Regions from separate parts of the Homo sapiens genome. Here region 2 is linked to region 1. Evidence: promoter capture Hi-C in human tissues and cell types (Jung and others, 2019). All regions are on one chromosome and are shown on one strand. Each heading gives the region's core, a stretch centred on a gene start or on the middle of the fragment in contact. The rest is flanking DNA. Distances are from core to core; before and after follow the strand shown. Region 1 holds the start of GID8 (GID complex subunit 8 homolog). Region 2 overlaps DNAJC5 (DnaJ heat shock protein family (Hsp40) member C5).

Region 1 (6,777 bases), core at 2,872-5,371:
ATGTTGCCCAGGCTGGTCTGGAATTCCTAGGCGCGAACAATCTTCCTCTGTCTCTCAAAGTGCTGGGACTATAAGCATGAGCCACCATGCTTGGCCCAAAAAAGTTTCACAGAGATTAATTTGGGAGAAGGAACTGGGGACTAACAGGAGGGAGATTTTTCATGTCATGTCTTTTAAAAACATCTATTTTCTTGCCATATACAGCACTGCCCTTCCTCCAGTTGACATCAAGAACAGCCTGACTGTTATTTCCCTCTGCACGCTTCTGCTCTTCCCCATTCCCATCCTCTGAGTTGGGCATACTTTCCAGAAACAGGCCAGCATATTTTTGCAGACTGGCCAGAAGAGATCAACTATTTAGGCTTTCAATATACTTACTTCACAACAGTCTCAATTATTTTGAGTAACTGTAAAACTGTCAAAGGCTGAAAAATGGGTTTGTGTTAGGTCTCAGAGACCTGGAAAAATCTCATCTTCAGAAAAGGCTTTCACATGATAACTTCCAAACTTACCAGGTTAGCATTGTGTTTTCATAATGTCTGAACACAAATAACTACGTCATCAAACCTCAGTGCTACAGCACTCCTTATGTGTTCAAAAAGGGAGAATCACATTCATGCAACAGCATCCTCACTGTAAGCCATTACCTGTGACCAGGTAGTTCATGATGAGGCGGTTCATGTCTGCTCTCTGGACATGCAAGTTATTGAGCTTTTCCATCCACTCATCTTTCGTGATTTCATCGGGTTTTTCTGCATAACTCATTCTGATTTATTTCTACAGGAAAAAAATAACAGCTGAGGGAGGGGTTTAGATGCTCCTCCAAGGGCAGAGGGCAGCGCTGGAAGAGCTGTGAGCCGGAGAATCCCACACTGAGCATGTACGGAAAGACAACGCTGCCGTGGGACACCCACCAGACTGAGAATGCCAATGCTTAGCAAAGAATAAGTTCACTTCAACTTTTTCTACTCTGGTATCAGGAGAACGGACTGTGCTACAAAAACAATCTGGTACTCCTTACAAAGCTGAACATGTGTGCTCCTCACAACCCAGCAATTCTACTTTTAATACATTTATATTCTAGAAAAACTCACCAGGATGCACCAAACACAGACAACGCTGTTCACAGAAGCACCGTTCAAAGCGGCAGGAATGTGGAAGCCACCCACCTGAGCGTTCATTCAACAGCAGCGTGGACCAAGGGACTGTGGCGCACAGAACTGCATGTTTAAAACCCTTGGGCAGATGGGTTTTGGAATTCAGAATTCTTCAATGTACAACGATTATTTGGCACAATTTACCATGTAACAGCCTCACTGGGGTTTGGGGGCACTCCCCATCATCAGACGTTATTTCTTCACTGAAATGTGTTAGGTATCTATACTAAGTGGTAGAGGCTATTAAACTTTACCTGGTGAGGTTTTGGCCACCAAATAGGTTAAAAACAAAACCAAAAACTGTGGTTTCAGAGATGTTTAGATTTTTAGCATTGCTGAGAAGGGACTGTGGTCATGTATTCACACAAGAGAATTTCATAAAGCAGTTAAAATAAATGAACATGACACAAAGTCACCTGGATGACTCTCATAAAACAATGCTGAATGAAAAAAGAGAGTTGCGGCCGGGCGCGGTGGCTCACGCCTGTAATCCCAGCACTTTGGGAGGCCGAGGCGGGCGGATCACAAGGTCAGGAGATCCAGACCATCCTGGCTAACACGGTGAAACCCCGTCTCTACTAAAAATACAAAAAATTAGCCGTGCTCGGTGGCGGGCGCCTGTAGTCCCAGCTACTCCAGAGGCTGAGGCAGGAGAATGGCGTGAACCCGGGAGGCGGAGATTGCAGTGAGCCGAGATCATGCCACTGCACTCCAGCCTGGGCGACAGAACAAGACTCCGTCTCAAAAAAAAAAAAAAAATTTGCCGGGCATGGTGGCAGATGCCTGTAATCCCAGCTACTCGGGAGGCTGAGGTAGGAGAATGGCGTGAACCCGGGAGGTGGAGCTTCTAGTGAGCCGAGATGGTGCCACTGCACTCCAGCCTGGGCGACAGAGCGAGACTCCGTCTCAAAAAAAAAAAAAAAGAAAAAAAAGAAAAGAAAAAGAGAGTTGCAGGAGAGGCCAAATCTGCCGTGAGTTTTATCAGGAACAACAAGACAAAATACATGACATGTGCTTTAGCAACAAATATGTACGTGGCAAACCTATTTTGTTTGTTTTTTTTTAAATAAGGGCATGAAAGCTGACACTCAGGAGGGGGTTACCTGTGGGAGGGGCAAATGGCTGAAGCCCCAGAGGCAGCTGTTCCGGCTTTGGGAGAATGGGTGGATACCTGAGACAGGCAGGGGCACGCCACCGTCCACTCTGTCTTTCTCTTTTGCCACTGATACATACGTTACACATACTACTTTATACGAAGTACTGCTAAAGTGTTTCAATAAATTAAAAAACTTTGGTCTCTTGGCTGAAAATGGGATGAATGCAGGGTGGTGAGATCTGAGCAGCCAGTCCCTTAGGGAGACACCCAAGCGAGAGAGAACATCGGCAGAAGAGATGGAGAGCAAGGTGAGATCAAGATGCTTTGGCCAGAGTCAATGGCTGCTGCTAGACAGATTACCGGACAAAAGAGAGGGAAGAATAGAAGATGGTCACAGGTTTCAAGCATGAGAGGCCCTGCAAGATGGGGCCACAAATAAGGAGGAAGGACTGGAAGAAGAACAGGTTTGAGAAGCAGGGCAAGTTTGACGTGACTATTAGACATGCGTCTGGAGAAATCAAGCAGGTGTCTGAATTACAGATCCTGAGCTCAGAGCTGAAAACATGAATTAGTGAAATAAGGGGCGGGGGGGGCGGTGCTGGGGCACAGGGATATTTAAAGCCAAGAATTCAGCAAAGACCATAGGAAGAGCGTAGATAGGGAATGAGAATCGCCATTACTTGGAGGATGCCAACCTTGAAGGTAAAGCAGAGAAAGTGGCACCAGCAGAAGAAAACTTGATGTGGAGCGGCAGGTAAAGTGGAGGAGAAACCAGGAGTCGCTGTCACACACGAACACCCATCTTTCGTTGTCAACTGCAAAACTCACTGAGACCAACTTTTTATTCACGACAATTAATGGTAACTTAAGGACTCATTTTCTTTTTCTTTTTTTTTTGAGACAGAGCCTCGCTCTGTCGCCCAGGCTGGAGGGCAGTGGCGCGATCATGGCTCACCGCAGCCTCGACCTCCTGGGCTCAAGCGATCCTCCCACCTCAGCCTCCAGAGTAACTGGGACAACAGGAGCGCACCACTCTGCCTGGCTAATTTTTTTATTTTTAGCAGAGAAGGGAGTCTCGCTGTTGCCACGGCTGGTCTCGAACTCGCGGGCTCAAGTGATCCGCCCACTTCGACCTCCGCCACCGCGCCCGGCCCTAGGACCAACGTTAAGAGCTCCCTAGGAAAAGGCACCTTTTCTCTCGGCCCATTCGGTGATCGGCACTCACAGCGCTTCCACTCCGGGCAGTTACGTGCGCCCATGAAAAGCAACAACTTTGTAGAACTGGCCAGTCCTGTTAGCAGGAAGAACTCGGTAGTCTCAAACTCCAGCATAAAAAGATTCAGCAGAAGAAAACACCCGTGTGCTGAAGACTCCTACTTTCCATGCCACACTTTACATCCTCACCCGCTCGGTTTCTGCTTTAAAGCAGCAGATTTTATTAAAAAGACTTCGTTACGGACGTCGCTCCTCCACAGAGACAGCTACCGCCGCCCCTCAGGCTGGCCGGGACCGCCCCAGAACACCAGCGCCTGAGGCCGCGCGCCTGGAGGCTGAGCCCTGACTGCCCCCTGGGCACCGGCGCGGGGCGGCCGTCCGGGCCTGGACTCACTGCGCGCCCCAATTCCGCACCTGCCAGCGCCGGCGCTTCCAAGGCCCCCAGAGCGGGGGCGGCGCGCACCCCGGCCACATCCCGCCTGCCCGCCCGGCCCGGCCCCGGGAGACGCTCGGCCCGGCCGCCCGGGCCCGCCGCCGCCATCTTACCGTGCGGAACCTGCCTCCCGCGCTGCGCGGTCTGGGCGGCTGCGGCTCCGCAGCCTCTCCTGGGCTGGGGAGAGGTGGCGGCCGCCGGGGCGCCCGAGTAGAAGGAGGCAGAGGTGGGGGCCGCGGCGGAGGCGGGGGCGGGGGCGGGGGCGGGGAGCGGGAGGGCAGGCGCACCGGAGGCCGCCCCTCAGCACCTCTCGCGACAGCAAGAGAGCGCGAGAGCGCGAGCCGATGACCAATGAAGCGCCCCCGCGAGGGGGCGGGGCGGACGGCCTCCCGGAAGCGCGGAACCTCAGCTTCCGTACTTGCGCAGAACTCCCCTCGCGGCGACCACGCACTACGGGTTGGCGCCAGAGTCAAAAGGCGTCGGCCCTCTGGCAAGATGGCTGCTGCGGAGGCGTTGGAGCGCGGAAATCTGGAACCGGGATGGCGACGTCTACACTGAGTCGGAGGCGAAGGTCCCAGCTTTTTTCCTGTCGTTTGCGTGAGGCCGCACGGGGTGGGGCGGGGGAAAGGCGCCGGGTGTCCGCGGCCGCCCCTCAGACGGGGAGGGAGTCCCCTCCCGACCGGCGGCCTTCCAGGGCTAGTGTCCCTGAGGTCCAGGGAGAGACGGCTGACCCGAGACCGGGCTGGGCGAGAGCTGTGCTGTCTGCGCGTTGAAGCGAGTTCCCCCGCTTTACTCGAGATGTTGTTGAGCGCGTCCTCACTCGAGGCCAGGTGGGGAATCAGAAGGGCCCTGCCCTCAGGGCGCCTCCCATGGGCTACGCCGAAGGGCGGGACGCGGCCAGGGCGCGCGGGACAAAGGAGACCCCACTTGCTTGCGGGGCGGAGTCCCGGCGGCGGCGCGGGGCAGGGCCGGGGTTACTCGGTGACTGGAGACCCTCCCGGCAGGAGCGCGGGTTGAGGCCGCACTTGGGTATTTGCGCGTTTACTTGCTTATTGCCTGTCCGCTCAGGAGGAATGCGAAGTCTGTCATTGCAGGGTCCCATGTTTCCGTTGCTGGGAAGTACCTTAAAATATTTGATAGAGCCGAAGGAAGAAATAGAGTCCTTGAGGGGCAGCTCCTGATTTCATCTGTGAGGAATTCACGGGACGGCTTCTTTCTGAAGTCAGGGGTGAGGTGGTTTCGTGTGTTTGCTTACAAGCGAGCTGAACAACGTGTAAGCTATGTCGGTCGGTCTACTCAGCGACAGTAAGTCCAGTTCGGCAAATAGGTTGGAGGAGACTGATTTTGGACATTTTCCGTTAATCGAAAGAGCTAAATCTGCAGGTATAAGGTCTTGACAAAATTATGCTTCATATGCAGAGGCAGTACATGCCAGTAATTTTTTCATTTGCAACTACATAACCCTATGGGAAACAGTTATTGGTCTTTATTTAGTTATTTATTTTGAGACGAAGTCTCACTCTCGCCCAGGCTGGAGCGCAGTGGCGCCATCTCGGCTCACTGCAACCTCCGCCTCCCGGGTTCAAGCGATTCTCCTGCCTCAGCCTCCCGAGTAGCTGGGACCACAGGGGCGCACCACCACGCCCAGCTAATTTTTGTATTTTTAGTAGAGACGGGGTTTCCCCTTGTTGGTCAGGCTGGTCTCAGTGTCTTGACCTCGTGATCCGCCCGCCTCGGACTCCCAAAGTGCTGGGATTACAGGCGTGAGCCACCGCTCCCGGCCTATTTTGATTTTATTTTATTCTATTTTTTGAGAAGGAGTCTCACTTTGTTGCCCAGGCTGGAGTGCACTGTCATGATCTCGACTCACTGCAACCTCCGCCTCCTGGGTTCAAGTGATTCTCCTGCCTCAGCCTCCCGAGTAGCTGGAACTACAGGCACCCGCCACCACGCCCGGCTACTTATTTTGTATTTTTAGTACGGGTGGGGTTTCACCATGTTGGCTAGGCTGGTCTCGAACTCCTGACCTCAAATGATCACCCACCTCGGCCTCCCAAGGTGCTCGGATTACAGTCATGAGCCACCGCATCCGGCCTATTTTTATTTTTTAAAGTTTTTTAGAGACGGGGTCTTGCCTTCTTGCCCAGGCTGGTCTCGATCTCCTGGGCTCAAGCCATCCTCCCGCCTCGGCCTCTGGGAGTGCTGGGTTTACAGGCGTCAGCCACCATGCCCAGCCTGAACGTCAAGGAGAAAGTGTGCAAGGGGATGCACGAGCAGAAAGCTTGAGTGCTAGCGCCTTAAGGCGACATTCCTTAACATTCCAGTCCAAAGAGGCTGTCTCAGTGCCTGCCTGTGGGTCACAGGTTAATGCTCCTCCTCCCAACAGCCAACCGGTTACCAAGTCCTGCTCGAGCCCCCTCCTTAATCCTCTCTAGAAACTGGCTCCTTTGTGTTGTTTCCCAGCCTCTTCCACCATAACGTGGAAGCCATCATCTTTGCTTTTTGGATTGCCAGGATGTCTCCGTAACTCCTGTTGAGCTCCAGAAGTCCTGTCACTACCTCTCACATAGCAGACAGGGTGATCTCTCCAAAAGCCATCACTCATTGACTCTATCCTTCTAACATCCCTTGGGGACTCCCCAGTTGCCTGTGTAAAGTTAGCGCAGCTATAAGTCTGCACTCCTGATCTTACTCTCTGCTCCAGCCATCCCAGCTGATTGGAGGTTTTCTCATGTCAACAAGCTTTGTTATCGCTGTGCTCTCAGTCTGGGCCCTAGCTAACAGCCTTCCCTAGGCTAACTCCTGCTCACCTCCTCAGTAGAGACGTGGCTTTCTCGGGGAAGTCTTCCCTAACAAAGCTGGATTGAGTGCCTTTC
Region 2 (7,512 bases), core at 571-3,070, 970 kb before region 1:
TGTCGACAGAGCGAGACTCCGTCTCAAAACAAACAAAAAACCCCTAAATTTCAGAGGTAGTTAAGTAGTAAAACACATGCATTCACCTCAAAATTGAGACAGTATGATCTGACAAAACTTGTGATATCTGCTTTGAGTTTTATCTACACAGCAGCTGCAGCTTAGGAAACACTTACCACGTGCCTGCCATCTACTGAACAGAGCCCTTCCTAAGAGGCCTGTGAGACGGGCCTGGTCAGGGGGTGGGAGGGTAGCTCTGGGGTCACCTGTCTGAGCTGCCATTGACAGGGACTCAGTGGCCAGGCAAGTTACTCAACACCTCCCCATGTCGATCTCCTCTTTGTCGAATGGGCATTAAACAGTCCAGCAAGGTATGTCTGGGAGCTGGCTTGAATAAAGCGGTCAGACCCTATGCCAGGCACACAGTTAATGTTAGCTATTATGATGATGATCTGTGCTTTTCGGCTAAGAAGACTGAGACTCAGGAAGGTGGAGTAACCTATTTGCAGTCACCGTGCTAAGGATCAGCAGGGCTGTAACTGAAATCAAAGTCAGCCTCCCAAGCACCGTACATCGTAACTGATTCTCAGCATCCATTTCACAAAAGGCAGTAATTCTTCTCTGTCCTGATCACAAATAACTTATTTTCTTGTACATCAAGCCTTTTCTGAATAAGGTACTATATGGACCACTGTCATTTATTTTATTTTATTTTATTTTAGAGACAGAGTCTCACTATATCACCCAGGTAGGAGTGCAGTGGCTCAATCACACCTCACGGCAGCCTTGACCTCCTGGACTCCTGCAACCCTCCGAAGTAGTTGGGACTACAGGTGTGCAACCACCACACTTGGATAATTTTTTATTTTTTGTAGAGGCAGGATCTCCCTAAGTTGCCCAGGCTAGGCAAACTCCTGAGCTCAAGTGATCCTCCCACCTTAGACTCCCAATGTGCTGGGATTACAGGTGCGAGCGATGGCACCCAGGCCACTGTCATATTTTAATTAATTAATTAATTTTTTTTGAGACAGAGTCTCGATCACTCACCCAGGCTGGAGTGCAGTGGCGCGATCTCGGCTCACTGCAAGCTCCACCTCCCAGGTTCACGCCATTCTCCTGCCTCAGCCTCCCGAGTAGCTGGGACTATATACAGGCGCCCACCATCACACCCGGCTTTTTTTGTATTTTTAGTAGAGACGGGGTTTCATCGTGTTAGCCAGGATGGTCTCGATCTCCTGACCTCATGATCTGCCCGTCTCGGCCTCCCAAAATGCTGGGATTACAGGCGTGAGCCAGCGTGCTCGGCTATTAATTTATTTATTAAGACAGAGTCTTTCTATTGCTCAAGCTGGAGTGCAGTGGAGCAATGTCGGCTCACTGCAACCTCCGCCTTCTGGGTTTAAGCAATTGTCCTGCCTCAGCCTCCTGAGTAGCTGGAATTACAGGTGCCTGCACCACACCTGGCTAATTTTCATATTTTTAGTAGAGATGGAAGGGGTTTCGCCATGTTGGCCAGGCTGGTCTCAAACTCCTGACCCCAAGTGATCCACCCGTCTTGGCCTCCCGAAGTGGTGGGATTACAGGTGTGAGCCACCGTGCCTGGCCCCATATTTTTAAATAAAAGTAAAATAAGTACATATATAGACAAAGTTTACAAAGCTTAATACATGTTTTATTGGCTATATTTTAATTAATTCTCAGCTTGAAGACACATTAATTATTGTCGCGTAGAATTTTAGATGTAAAAAGTATTTTCCTTAATTAAAAAAAAAATCCTGGGCCGGGCATAGTGGCTCACGCCTGTAATCCCAGCACTTTGGGAGGCTGAGGCGGATCACCTGAGGTCAGTGAGTTCAAGACCAGCCTGGCCAACATGGTGAAACCCCGTCTCTACTAAAAATATAAAAATTAGCCAGGTGAGGTGGCACGTGCCTGTAATCCCAGCTACTCGGGAGGCTGAGGCAGGAGAATCGCTTGAACCCAGGAGGCGGAGGTTGCAGTGAGCCAAGATGGTGCCATTGCACTCCAGTCTGGGTGACAGAGCAAGACTTTGTCTCCAGAAAAAAAAAAAAATTAGCTGGGCAGGGTGGCACGCCCCTATAATCCCAGCTACTCGGGAGGCTGAGGCAGGAGAATTGCTTGAACCCAGGAGGCGGAGGTTGCAGTGAGAGCTGAGATCACATCATTGCACTCCAGCCTGGGTGACAAGAGCCAGACTCCGTGAAAAAAAAAAAAAAAAAATCTGCCATGTGCGGTCATGTGTGGTGGCTCACACCTGTAACCTGAGGTGGGAGGATCACTCGAGCCCAGAGGTGAAGGCTGCAGTGACTGCACCACTGTAAACCAGCCTGGGCAAGAGTGTGAGACCTTGTCTCTTAAAACAAAAAAATCCAGCCCCGGGTGTGGTGGCTCACACCTGCAATCCCAGTACTTTGGAAGGCTGAGGTGGGTCAATCACTTGAGGTCAGGAGGTCGAGATCGGCCTGGCCAACATGGTGAAACCCCATCTCTAGTAAAAATACAAAAATTAGCCGGGCATGGTGGTGCACACCTGCAGTTCCAGCTACTCAGGAGGCTGAGGCAGGAGAGTCACTTGAACCCGGGAAGCAGAGGTTGCAGTGAGCCGAGATCGTGCCATGGCACTCCAGCCTGGGCGACAAGAGCGAGACCCCATCACATACACAAAAGACAGGAAAAAAAAAAAAAAGCCAGGCACGGTGGCTCACCCTATAATCCTGACACTTTGGGAGGCCGAGGCAGGCGGATCACCTGATGTCAGGAGTTCGAGACCAGCCTGGCCAACATGGTGAAACCCCCGTCTAGACTAAAAATACAAAAATTAGCCGGGCGTGGTGGCGGGCACCTGTAATCCCAGCTACTCTGGAGGCTGAGGCAGGAGAATCGCTTGAACCCGAGAGGCAGAGGTTGCAGTGAGCCGAGATCGCGCCGTTGCACTCCAGCCTGGGGTACAACAGCGAGACTTTGTCTCAAGAAAAACAAAAACAAACAAAAAAACCCCCACAGTTTATTAATCTGCCTTATTGTCCTTTGCCTTTTAAAAATATAAGATAAGCCTGTTTAAGGCTTTACTGGGAGGCAGCTGTCAGTCAGCCAGCTGTTCTGGAGTCAGTCCAGGGCAAAGGCTGCTGTAGGAACAGCATTAGCACAACTTTGCCTATTTATCCTTAACCAGAGCAGGTTTACAAGGATGCCTATACCATGAACACCTGCACGCATCTCAGTCCGCCCACCTGGAGGTCAGACACACTAAGAGGCAGCTGGACCAGCTCCCTGTTCAAGGCCACTTCAGATTCTATGTGAGTTACAGTGCCCTTGTCTTAAAGTATTTTCATAAATGTGAATTAAGCAGTGCTCACACCAGGGAGAAGGATGCTGTGAGTCTGTCTGTTGGTCTGCTGGTGACAATCAGTTAGGGTTACCCAACCTGGCGGGATGATGCAAGAGAAAACAGCACCAACAGAAACCACATCGTAAGAGGTAATTTTGGGGAAAAAAGGGTAATTTTGTAAATCCTGTGTTGTCACTTTAACATGTATGATGACATTATTTGTGCTTATTCTTCAATATTATACCTTTATACTCGAGAATCTAAAAAACTGTTTAAGACCCACCCTGCATGGCTGTCCTGGGGATTACGGCTAATGCATATTCGGCAACCTTGTCCCAGAACACCTGTTCAACAAACCACGGTTTGCCTCATTTCAGAGTGTTTTGCTATTTGGACACGGGGTATTCTTTTTCATCCCCCACTGCAACCTCCGCTTCCCAGGCTCCAGGGATCCTCCCACCTCAGCCTGACCTCAGCCTCTCGAGTAGCTGGGACCACAGGCATGCACCACCACGCCCAGCTAACTTTTGTATTTTCTGCAGAGATGGGGTTTCCTCATGTTACCCAGGCTGGTCTCAAATTCCTGAACTCGAGAGATCTATCCACCTCAGCCTCCCAAAGTGTTGGGGTTACAGGTGTCAGCCACTGCACCTGCCCAAATTTTTGTATTTTTAGTAGAGACGTGGTTTCGCCATGTTGGCCAGGCTAGTCTCAAACTCCTGGCCTCATGTAATCTGCTTGCCTTGGCCTCCCAAAGCACTGGGATTACAGGCTTAAACCACTAAGCCTGGCCAAAAATGTTTTTAATTTTTTAAAAATTTCTATACGAAGAGCCTTATTAAAAGTTTGAGATGGGCCGAGCGCAGTGGCTCACACCTGTAATCCCAGCACTTTGGGAGGCCAAGGTGCGCAGACCATGAGGTCAAGAGATCGAGATCATCCTGGCCAACATGGTGAAACCCCGTCTCTACTAAAAAATACAAAAATCAGCCGGGCGTAGTGGCGCATGCCTGTAGTCCCAGCTGCTACAGAGGCTGAGGCAGGAGAATCGCTTGAACCCAGGAGGCGGAGGTTGCAGTGTGCCAAGATCGCACCACTGCTCTCCAGTCTGGTGACAGAGACTCCATCTCAAAAAAGAGAGTTTGAGGTGAGTCAGTGAGGTGGTGCGTGCCTACAATCTCAGTTACTGAGGGTTAGGGTGATTCTAATCTACTGAGACTGTAGGCATGCACCACCTTGGGAGGCTGAGGCAGGAGGATCGAGCCCAGGAAGGCCAACCTGGGCAACATGTGGAGGCCCCATCTCTACAAAAATTAAAACATTAGTCAACTGTGGTGACACATACCTAAAGTCCCAGCTACTTGGGAGGCTGAGATAGGAGGATTGCTTGGGCCTGGGAGAATGCAGTGAGCTAAGACTGTGTCACTCCTCTCTAACTTGGGTGAGAGACAGAGTGACACCCTGTTGTAAAAAAAACAGGATGTGGCAGGGCGCGGTGGCTCACGCCTCTAATCCCAGCACTTTGGGAGGCCGAGGTGGGCAGATCACGAGGTCAGGAGATCGAGACCATCCTGGCTAACACGATGAAATCCCGTCTCTACTAAAAATACAAAAAACATTAGCTGGGCGTGGCGGCGGGTGCCTGTAGTCCCAGCTACTCGGGAGGCTGAGGCAGGAGAATGGCATGAACCCAGGTGGCAGAGCTTGCAGTGAGCCGAGACTGAGTCACTGCACTCCAGCCTGGGCGACAGAGCAAGACTCTGTCTCAAAAAAAAAAAAAAAAAACAAGATGAGGCCAGGTGCGTTGGCTCACGCCTGTAATCCCAGCACTTTGGGAGGCCGAGGTGAGTGGATCACCTGAGGTTGGGAGGTCGAGACCAGCCTGACCAACATGGAGAAACCCCATCTCTACTAAAAATACAAAATTAGCTGGGTGTGGTGGCACACGCCTGTAATCCCAGCTACTCAGGAGGCTGAGGCTGGAGAATCACTTGAACCCAGAAGGCAGAGGTTGCGGTGAGCCAAGATCACACCGTTGCACTCCACCAGCCTGGGAAACAAGAGTGAAACTCCGTCTCAAAAAAAAAAAAAAAAAAAAAAAAGATGAGGCCAGGAGCAGTGGCTCACGCCTGTAATCCCAGCACTTTCGGAGGCCGAGCTGGGCGGATCACAAGGTCAGGAGATCGAGACCATCCTGGCTAACACGGTGAAACCCCATCTCTACTAAAAATACGAAAAATTAGCCGGGCGTGGTGGCGGGCGCCTGTAGTCCCAGCTACTCGGGAGGCTGAGGCAGGGGAATGGCGTGAACCCGGGAGGCGGAGCTTGCAGTGAGCCGAGATCGCGTCACTGCACTCCAGCCTGGGCGACAGCACAAGACTCTGTCCCCCACCCAAAAAAAAAAAGCATTATTATTTTAAAGAACACATCAAGAAAGAACTAACAAAATTTATTGCGACTGGCAAAAATGTAAAATCTCAGATTTTAACAGCTAGTCCTATCGCAGCAGCTAAAAGAACACCAAAGTGCTGTGGTAAAAGGCCCCGCAAGCAAAGGGGAAAGACAGACACCATCTGAGGGCTACGAACTTGGCAAGAGATGACAGAAGCTACAGTCTGTACTCCTGGACCCAGAATTTCCTTCGTTATTTGTCTTAGGGAAACCTTCTTACAATAAAACACAATCCTATTTAATAAAGAAAAATCCGATGGGACTGCTCAGCAAAGATCCAAACATTCGCTCTGCTGCTAATCCCTCCCAATAACAGGAGGAGCAAAATAAAAGCCAGGCAGGGCCGCACACTCCACACACTCCCTCTGCTGAGCTGCAGTCACTCCTCCCGTCAGGCACCTGCAGCCTCGTCCGGGGTAGAGGCCTCTGGCCTGGGCTCGCCTCCACTCTGAGACTGATGTGGAGCGCGCGGACGCAGCCTCTGGCACCTGAATTCAGCTCCTGCTTCTTCAAGGGTCAAGAGTAAGACGGGATATTTTCGTTCTGCAGTTTCACTAGAACACATTTCCACCCTACCTGGTGAAAAAATAGAGGCACAGGGCAGGGAGAGCTCTCCCCGAAGTCAGCCGCGCTCTAGAGACAGCAAGGAGGGCAGGGCACAGCCGATGGGGCTGGGAAGTCGATTCCATCTTCCGACCTGCCAGCATCATGATTTCATAACAGGCACAGAATGCCTCAGAACGCAGATTGAGCACAGTGGCTCATGCCTGTAAACCCAGCACCTTGGGAGGCCAAGGTGGGTTGATTACTTGAGTTCAGGAGTTTGAGACCAGCCTGGACAACATGGTGAAACCCCATCTCTACTAAAAATACAAAAATTAGCTGGGCGTGGTGGCACACGCCTGTAATTCCAGTTACTCAAGAGGCTGAGGCAGAAGAATCACTTGAACCCGGGAGGTGGAAGCGGCAGTGAGACACGATCGTGCCACTGCACTCCAGCCTGGATGACAGAGCGAGACTCCGTCTCAAACAAACAAAGAATCCCTGGACACAGCAATGCAGACACTACATGGCTCTGGACACTTCACCTCGTAAATGATTATTTCTGCTGGTGATACATGTTCAATGTAGAATATTTAAAGGGACAATACAATTATAAACCCATGAAAAATAAGATTCATTCACATCCATATTCAAGGAATCTTCACTAAGCACTCACAACACAACACAAAAATTTAAAAATGTCACTCAGGTTTAATATGTCAAGAATAAATGACAAAGTTCTCTGTCATAGAAATAAGTTTTTTGAAACCATTCATGCAAAATGTAGAATGATGTTGCAACAAAGTTAAATTGTGGCATATGCAGGTCTGTCCTGAGGAGGAAATTATTGATCAATACAGAACTTCCTTTTTTTTTTTTTTTTTTTTTTTGAGACAGTGTCTTGCTCTGTCGCCCAGGCTGGAGTGCAGTGGAGCAATCATGGCTTGCTGCAGCCTCAGCCTCCCAGGCTCAGGTGATCCTACCACCTCAGCCTCCGAGTAGCTGGGACTACAGCTGCATGTCACCATACCCGGCTAATTGTTTCTAGTTTTAGTACAGATGGGGTTTTGCTATGTTGCCCAGCCTGGTCTTCACTTCTGGACTCTAGCAATCCGCCTGCCTCGGCCTCTCAAAGTGCTGGGATTACAGGCATGAGCCACTGCACCAGC

What was found. The method cuts DNA at HindIII sites, captures the fragments that hold promoters and counts their contacts. A contact is called where the count stands out against the background at its distance.
Region 2: a contact is called between a fragment that was not itself captured here and the fragment with the promoter of GID8 in region 1, in 1 of the 25 tissues and cell types used here (dorsolateral prefrontal cortex).

The regions. Positions count from the first base shown.
Region 1 is chr20:62,935,491-62,942,267 of GRCh38, reverse strand. GID8 (GID complex subunit 8 homolog) reads right to left here and starts at 4,121. Exons shown (of 5, transcript NM_017896.3): 1 at 4,015-4,121; 2 at 648-777. The coding sequence starts at 765. It also overlaps a transcript of DIDO1 not described here. RefSeq lists silencers at 3,751-3,880, 3,951-4,180, 4,551-4,600, 4,871-4,920 and an enhancer at 3,387-4,055. The HindIII fragment of the contact is 10,021 bases long and covers 1-6,413 here.
Region 2 is chr20:63,900,298-63,907,809 of GRCh38, reverse strand. The region is part of intron 1 of DNAJC5 (DnaJ heat shock protein family (Hsp40) member C5); the gene reads right to left. Among named protein-coding and RNA genes, the nearest start is that of DNAJC5, 8.9 kb to the right of the region's middle. The HindIII fragment of the contact is 9,611 bases long and covers 1-6,625 here.